Linked DNA regions of Homo sapiens: region 2 is linked to region 1. The links are contacts of gene promoters, found by promoter capture Hi-C in blood cells and fetal thymus (Javierre and others, 2016). All regions are on one chromosome and are shown on one strand. The core of a region is centred on a gene start or on the middle of the fragment in contact, and the rest is flanking DNA. Distances in the headings are between cores, read along the strand shown. Region 1 holds the start of KLRC1 (killer cell lectin like receptor C1). Region 2 has its middle 25 kb from the start of GABARAPL1-AS1.

Evidence for each region. Contacts are between HindIII fragments. The CHiCAGO score rates a contact against its expected background, and 5 or more counts as called.
Region 2: a fragment that was not itself captured here is called in contact with the fragment with the promoter of KLRC1 in region 1 in 1 of 17 cell types (total CD8 T cells); the score reaches 5.8 in total CD8 T cells.

What each region holds. Positions count from the first base shown.
Region 1 is chr12:10,450,451-10,454,752 of GRCh38, forward strand. KLRC1 (killer cell lectin like receptor C1) reads right to left here and starts at 2,927. Exons shown (of 7, transcript NM_002259.5): 1 at 2,748-2,927; 2 at 520-737; 3 at 34-129. The coding sequence starts at 706. The HindIII fragment of the contact is 4,540 bases long and covers 563-4,302 here.
Region 2 is chr12:10,237,577-10,241,851 of GRCh38, forward strand. It overlaps a transcript of KLRD1 not described here. Among named protein-coding and RNA genes, the nearest start is that of GABARAPL1-AS1, 25 kb to the left of the region's middle. The HindIII fragment of the contact is 5,718 bases long and covers 1-4,275 here.

The DNA.
Region 1 (4,302 bases), core at 1,677-4,176:
AATTCCCCTTGTAATCTTCGAAAATAGACTTACAGGGAATAACAACTATCGTTACCACAGAGGCCATTAAGATAAGACAGATAATTCCCAGGATCCCAACAATGAGCTTCTCTGGAGCTGATGGTAAATCTGCAGGGAGAGAAATGGGAACAGTGCGAAAGGAGAGGTGGATACAGTCGTTTAGAAGATTCACAGACAAGAGAACCTGAATGCACAGGAATCATACAGAGAAACTTGGACCCCAAACCCTCATCTCCCATTGTAATCTTTTTCTCAGAATAATATACCATTGAATTTTCAGGAAAAATAATGCTCCATGAATTATTTGACAAAGACTACAAACTTCAACAATGAGTTCAATCAGTCTTCATACTTTACATTGAAATAGCATATCTCAACTTGGAATTCTGATCTTTGCAAATAGAAGATATATGAGCACTCCCTTCTCTTTCCCCACATTCCTGTACCCCAAGCTGCACATCCTAGACTGTTATATTGAGGATCTTTTAAATGCTTTACCTTTGCAGTGATAGGTTTTGTCATTCCCTTGAAAATCCTGAGAAGCTTTTTGAAGGTTTAATTCCGCATAGGTTATTTCCTGTTCAGTTGCTAAAATGGAGTTTTTATTGCCTTTAGGTTTTCGTTGCTGCCTCTTTGGGTTTGGGGGCAGATTCAGGTCTGAGTAGATTACTCCTTGGTTATCCATCTCTGCAGTGTGTGATGTCAGGGACTGTACTCTATAATAACAGTAGTTAAGAAGTTAATAAATGGTTTATATACAGGATTCCCTAGTGCAATTAAAAGGGTGAGGTGGAGAACGAGTATTGGAGCTCATTTTGCATTAAATAATCTAAAGTTCTTTCTCTGATTTTCTTCAAGCCTAAACACGTTTCTTATGAATATTTGTTTTAAAAAAAGATTTTTAGGCCGGGCGCGGTGGCTCACGCCTGTAATCCCAGCACTTTGGGAGGCCGAGGCATGCCGATCACGAGGTCAGGAGATCGAGACCATCCTGGCTAACACGGTGAAACTCCGTCTCTACTAAAAATACAAAAAGTAGTCGGGCATGATGTCAGGCGCCTGTAGTCCTAGCTACTCGGGAGGCTGAGGCAGGAGAATCTCTTGAACATGGGCGGCAGAGGTTGCAGTGAGCGGAGATTGTGCCACTGCACTCCAGCCTGGGCGACAGAGTGAGACTCCGACTCAAAAAAAAAAGATAAATTTTCTGCATTTGACAAAATATTATTGCTGGGGCAATGAGAAGCAATAAATTACTAAGGAATAAAGAAGTTCAGGAATAAAAATATATTTCTTAAAGTCTGATGTTTTACCTGTGTTAAAAATTAAAATGTTGTATTAGAAAAACTTCTGCACTCATTTTTATGTTAATTTTGAAATCCAGTAATGGTTAAGACTATGTGGTCTGCACATGAGTAATAGTAAAGTTGACATATATATATATAAAAATTTCTTGCACTACATTACTTTTAATTAGTAATTTATACACATTAATGAAAATCAATAGAGGTAATTAAATGGTCTTTTCTTAATGGCTGAAATGTTCTAAGAAATTATTAAAAATTATTTATTAAAAATTATAAAAAATTAAATATTTGTATATGACAGAAAATGCTATGTGACACAGTTAACTTATGCATAACCTAAATAGTATTAGGAACACTACATAAATTGTTAATACTTACAGAAGTATTGGTAATTTAATTAGTAATTGGTAATTTATTTCCTGGCTAAATTATGAACCAAAAAATGATAAATAAAAGTATAGGTAATTCATGTTAAAGCACATTTCATTTAAACTTATAGAATGATTTTATGGTTGTCAAAGTGAGTAAAGGCCACTTTAGTTGTATAAGTACTTGTAAAATTTCAGATAATGTAATTAAATCATTTAGTCAATGGGCTCTGGAGTCAGTGAGATCTAGAATTAATTCTAGCTTTGACACTTATAATGTGCGACCTTTAAAAAGTTATTCTATTTTTAATAACCCAGTTTGTTAATCTAAAATGGGCATAAGAACATATAAAACGTTGCATGTAAAACATTTACCACTCAACCTGGCACTTAAAGTTCTCAATAAGCATTAGCTACTTTAATTATTATTTTAGTCACAATTGTTATGTTACTGTTTCTGATTCATGTCAGTTAAAGCATGGAAAATAAATCTTCAGATAAGTCTCCTATGTCCATGCGCTACATCTTTTTTTGCAATATTTTGATCAATTTTTAAAAAGTATTTTTATTGCTTTGTAATACCTTTAGCATTTTATGTAATCTACCTCATTCTGATTTTTATTAAAAATAAAAACTGCTTTTCTCTAATCTACGTGTCTGAGGAATTGTATTTGGCTTTCATCAATTGATTGATTTATTTTAATAATCTTTAATGGCTAAGCTAAATATAAATTATTATTCAAAGATACATGATGTACTGATTACAAAATACAAAATTAATTGTTCATTATTGTGATGTTAATAGCTTTCCCTTAAACGATATTGATCAACAAACCCACTAGATTTCCACAAACAATAATTTGAAAACTTTAAGAAATCCTTCAACATATTTCATATTTTAGGTTTTTACCCTGAGTTATTCAAATGAAGACAGCAATATTCTACTTTGATTTTATTGTATATTAATTATACCTCCTTTGTATCATATTGAGCACTTGAAATCACCCACTAAATGAGGTAGGCTAGTAGAGAGTTGGAGAGTAGCAATACATACCTTCTGTCCCCAGAAAGTCACACATCCTTTAGTGGAGAGGCCAGGTTAGTCTCATAAAAAGGCCTGCTATAGCTGTGTAATAAAAGGTGAAATTTAAAGGCATAAATCCAAGACAAGAACAAACAATGCCTGCAATCTTCGCAGACTGCCCTGTGAAGGCTCAGAGTGAGTCAAGAGTGGAAAAAGTAGATTTCTCATCAACGTGTTACTAAGGTTTGAACAGGAAATTCTACACATGGGCTATTGTGAAATCAGTTTTATCTCATCACACACCTCCAAAATATAGGATACTTGGTCTATTAAAAGTACAAGGTTGACTTTGAAAGTGTGTCATTTAGTTGGTTCATTTTTCAAGTGCCTATGAGAATTTTTTTTTTTTCTGTCTTGATCACGAACATTGTCAACCCTCACCTTGTTAAGAGTGCCTTTTAGACTAGGTTGCTAAATCTTAACATTGCATACTTCTTTTCTTTATATTATTTTATTATGTCACTTCCATTATAATAGAAAACATTCTAAAACTCATAGTAATATTATCAACTGATATCTACTGATTTTTTCCTTAATTATTCTGAAAAATTACTGCAGTAATTACTCAATTGATTGTAGCTGGCACAAAAAGCATCATTGCCAAAGTTATATTATTAACTTCTCTTAGTTCTTAAATTTTTGCACTTAATTTTTAAAAATAGATTATTTAATCTTCAGATTACCCTTGATAAAAATATCTTGGATAGGTAAAATATTAATCAATTTTGAAATATATTAGCATACCAGAAATTGAAATATTAAATAGCTATTCATTACATTCTTCATTTATTCATCCTCCGCCATAACAAATTATGTCGACTTTCATAGAAATATTTAGTTGTAAATGACAAAAACTGAAGTCAAACTATGTATGGGGAAAAAGTAATTTTAAAATCTTACTAGGAGGAAAGTCAGTAAATTGGCAGAATAGGTGGTCCCCCACACATATGCCCCCACAGCAACAATAATTTTTCAGCCATCCACAGACAAAAGTTCCTTTGAGGGAGTTTGGAATTCAAGTAGGAGTTTGTAAAATGCCAGTGGAACCCAAGACCTAGGAAGGTTGTTTTAGGGAATAGATTTGCATCCAAGTGGCAGACTTACCAACAGTGATTCCATCTCCAGACCTGAAAAGGGACCCATCCTCCTGTGCTTGCCTTCAGCCCCATTTAGGCCTTGGTCATGCTGCCAAAACCATTTGCCCAGGGGCCCAGGAGGAGACTCACACACTAGTGTCTCAGGAGGTAGGCATATCAACTGTAGTCTCAATGTAGACCCTGAAACAGCCCTCTAACTTGGCTTTAACTAGTGTCAGCCACAACTTGAGATCAGTCCTTCACCCACAGAGACTTCCTGGGAGACATATACATCTGTACCTCTGGGGCATGCTTGCTGACCTCTGTCCTACAGAAGATACTAAAATGGCCCTGAATCTCCACTCAAACTCCTCTCAACTGTGACCTGAGTTAATCACAGGAAATTGCTGTGAGACTCAATCATCTTTGTCAGCAGTACAGGCTTGCTG
Region 2 (4,275 bases), core at 1,493-3,992, 210 kb before region 1:
CACAGCCGTTTATCGACTGTGGATGGTGGAACTAAAAGAGCTAAGTAGCACACTCACACCCCCTCTGGGGCTTTGGGATCATGGGCACCAGGCTGCCATGTTCCCCTCAAGGCAACATGACTGGTCTGGACATGGGCTTTGCATGGAGCTTGCTCCTGTATTGGTGCTTGGAGTGGCTGGCCAGATCCCATACTCACTTGCTTATGTGTTACCTCTCTCAAGGGGCGGAGCATGGTGGGCCGAGGAGATGGGGCACTCGTGCTAGGAGTCCGGCAAAAGGGCCAAGAAAAATCCTGCATGAATATTACAATCTCTGATCATCCAGTTAAAGTTTCTAGGGCCCCTCTGCTGTTGCTGTCAATCTCAAACACTTTTTTGTTTCATTTACAACACATATTGGAACTTGTATTATTTTGAATTTGCTTTTTAACTTAAATTTTATAATTTCTTTCATTAGAATATGGTTTCCATGAGGCCAGAGAACATGTCTGTTTTTCTTTTTTCTATTTTTTTTTTTTTTTTTTTTGAGATGGAGTTTTGCTCTTTGTTGCCTAGGCTGGAGTGCAATGGTGTGATCTCAGCTCACCGCAACCTCTGCCTCCTGGGTTCAAGTGATTCTCCTGCCTCAGCTTCCTGAGTAGCTAAGATTACAGGCATGAGCCACCACACCCAGCTAATTTCGTATTTTTAGTAGAGATGGGGTTTCTCTATGTTGGTCAGGCTGGTCTTGAACTCCTGACCTCAGGTGATCTGCCTGCCTCGGCCTCCCAAAGTGCTGAGACTATAAGTGTGAGCCATTGCATCTGGCCCTTTTTCATTCACTGAATAATTTCACTACTTTACAAATATGTGTCAGGCACTAGGCTAGCAGACACACACATAATATTTGTTAAATAACCATACCTTTCTAGAAGGAACTTCCCCTTTAAAGTTTTTCTATATACAAATTGAGAAACAGGTAGAAAGAATCCACATTCTTAGAACTTATTCTTAGCAGATAATTTAATTTGAATCTCAATGAAAATGAAATTTAATAAATATGACTATTAAGAGACAATCAGAGTCATATTTTTAAAAAGTACATTCACTGACCTAATGAGTTATGATGTGTGGAGAACATATCACAGAACCAGAAACATCCTGTCCAAAACAGCCTAGCATATTTTAGTTCAACAAACAAAATGATGTGTTGAAATTTAGTTGGTGAGATAAGACAAAGCCAGCCCATTTGGGTCTAAATTTATGAGATTTTTTATCCAGAACATGATTATAATGATTATTTCACTTAGAGTTGTGTGAATCTGACCTAACCAAGGATAACAATGGGTAGGTCGAAGATCATATTTATGACATCTTGGCCCTGGATTTTTCCAGTTCGTTCAGACTTCAAAACCTTTGAAGGGAGTCTTAGGTTCTTACCTTATTGTTATTAAGATGTTCGAAAAGCTCAAGAATTCTAAAAAGCCAGAATGAGGGGATAACTTTCACCAAAGACTTTTCCTTTATCTTTTGTTGTACGTGGTCACTTAACTGTTTTAGCTTAATTTAACAAAAAAGATGAGAAAATATTTTTACAGTATCATGAGATGAGGCTTCTAATGGGCTGGTGGCCAAGGATGGGGAAAAGAATCAAGGACAGATTAAATCTCCAAAGTAAGAGAATCTATTATATAGCAAACAAACTTGTATAATTAATCTCTAGGAGCACGGGTTCTAATAAGCCCAGGTACCACAAAGATAGAGAATTGCTTCTTCTGTCCAGGCAAAAGGCATGACTAAAGGTGTGACTTGCTCTCTGGGGATGATACCAATTTGGCAGCAGCATTTCCTTCCTTCCTTCTTTCCATCCTTCCTTCCTTTCCTTCCTTCCTTCCTTCCTTCCTTCCTTCCTTCCTTCCTTCCTTCCTTCTTCCTTCCTTCCTTCCTTCCCTCCTTCCCTCCCCTTTCTTTCTTTCTTTCTTTCTTTCTTTCTTTCTTTCTTTCTTTCTTTCTTTCTTTCTTTCTTTCTTTTTCTTTCTTTCTTTCTCTCTCTTTCTTTCTTCTTTTCTCTTTCTCTCTGTCTTTTGTTTGTTCGTTCATTTTTGAGACAGAGTCTCACTCTGTTGCCCAGGCTGGAGTGCAGTGGCATGATCTCAGTTCACTGTAACCTCCACTTCCCGGGTTCAGGCGATTCTCCTGCCTCAGCCTCCTAAGTAGCTGGGATTACAGGTGCCCGCCATCATGCCCAGCTAATTTTTGTATTTTTACTAGAGATGGGGTTTCACCATGTTGGCCAGGCTGGACTTGAACTCCTGACCTGAAGTGATCCGCCCGCCTCAGCCTTCCAAAGTGTTGGGATTACAGACGTGAGCCACTTTTTCTCTTTCTTAAAACATTTTGCCCAATGCTAAATTTTACTGCTTGGTTTCACCATAGTAATCTGCTCTAGAAGAAAATTACCACAGGTGGGATTGTCAAGGTGTTCCGGGATAATCATTTCTACTTTCTTTCTTTTTTTTTTTGGAGACAGGTTCTTACTTTGTCACCCAGGCTGGAGTGCAGTGGCGTGATCTCAGCTCAATGCAGCCTCAACCTCCCAGGCTCAAGCTACCTTCTTACCTCAGCCCCCCAAGTCGCTGGGACCACAGGTGCGCACCATCATGCTGGGCTAATTTTTGTATTTTTTGTAGACACAGGGTTTTGCCATGTTGCCCAGGCTGGTCTTGAGCTCCTGAGCTCAAGCGATCTGCCCGCTTCTGCCTCCCAAAGTGCTGGGATTACAGGCTGAGTCACCATGCCCAGCCCTCATTTCTATTTTCTACATGCCTTTTTTTTTTCTTTGCTTTCATTGTTCAGCTTCATGCCATGATCTTATTCTGACCATGATGAAATTAGTAGAATAGATCTTCACTTACGTTCTCTGCTCCCAGTGACTAATGTAGAGACAAGAGTTTTTATATTATTTGAATTTTTGTTATGAAAAAATGTAAACATTAAGTAATATAGACATAATAACTTAATGAACTACCATGTGCCCATCACCCAGCTTCAACTCACTCCCCAATCAAGGTGAGTGTGTATCTCCCATGAGTGAGTAAACTACCACGTGCCCATCACCCAGCTTCAACAAGCATCGACTCACTCTCCAATCAAGGTGAAATATCAGACATCATGTGATTTTATCGGTCAGTACATTTCCCTGATTTTTAAGTACATTTAAGTCAGTACATTTTCTGTTTTTAAGTAAATTATACAGGGATTCACTATGGTGACTAGTTATATCTTTTACCTTTGTTTTTGCTATTGTTTTTGTTGCTTGCATGAATTGAGTCATTTGTCTTTTAGGGTTTTCCACAGTCTTGATTTGCTGATTGCACCTCCGTATGTAGTTCAACATCTTCTTCTTTTTTCTATATATATCCTGTGTATTGGTAGCAAGGTAGATACTTGGTAAGATTCAAGTTGGAATAATTTTATGAGGGGCAAAAAGCCCTACTATTTCATAATAAGAGTTGTGTAGTTACATTCAGAGGCATTTACTATCTAGTGTCTCTTTTATGTAATGTCAGCAGCAACTGATGGTCATTAACTAGGTCCCTTAATTCATGACACAAAACGTTGAAAGTTTAATTCAATCATTCCCTATTCATTTATTGGCTGAAGTACTTTCATAAATAGCGACTTCACCTCATCAATTATTAGGTTACTCTTTGTTACGGTTTGTATAAGAGTTTGCAGGAGAAGTACTTGATTCTTTTCTTTATCAGCTTTCTAATTAATGAATAAACTCAGGAGGGGAGCGATTTTTTACTTTCATAAAATAAAAATAATTTCAGACTTACAGAAAAAGTTGTGAGAAAGAGACAAAGAATGTGTAAATAGCTAGTCTTGACTCAGACTTCTTAAATGTTAATGTGCTACATTTGCTTTACGTAATCTTTCTTGGTTACATTTCAAAGAGAAGGCTTCTAGGTCCTTGAAAATGACATTACTGAGTTGTAAAACTGGCAATAGGTTGGAAAAGATTTACACCTCAAAGCGGCTGAGAAATAATTTATAATTGCAAGTTTTCTAAAGTAAATACTATAAGAAAAGGGAGGCCAGAGAACTATAGTTAGGAAGAAATTTGTCTAAAATTTCAGTTAAGATCAGGAGAAGGTTAAGGCTGATATTGGATAGTATGTGTGTATATGTGCATATTTGTTTATATATGTGTATGTATATATATATGCATACATGTATATGCACACATTCACATATAGAATGGATATTTTTGTACTGTTTACTAAAGTACTT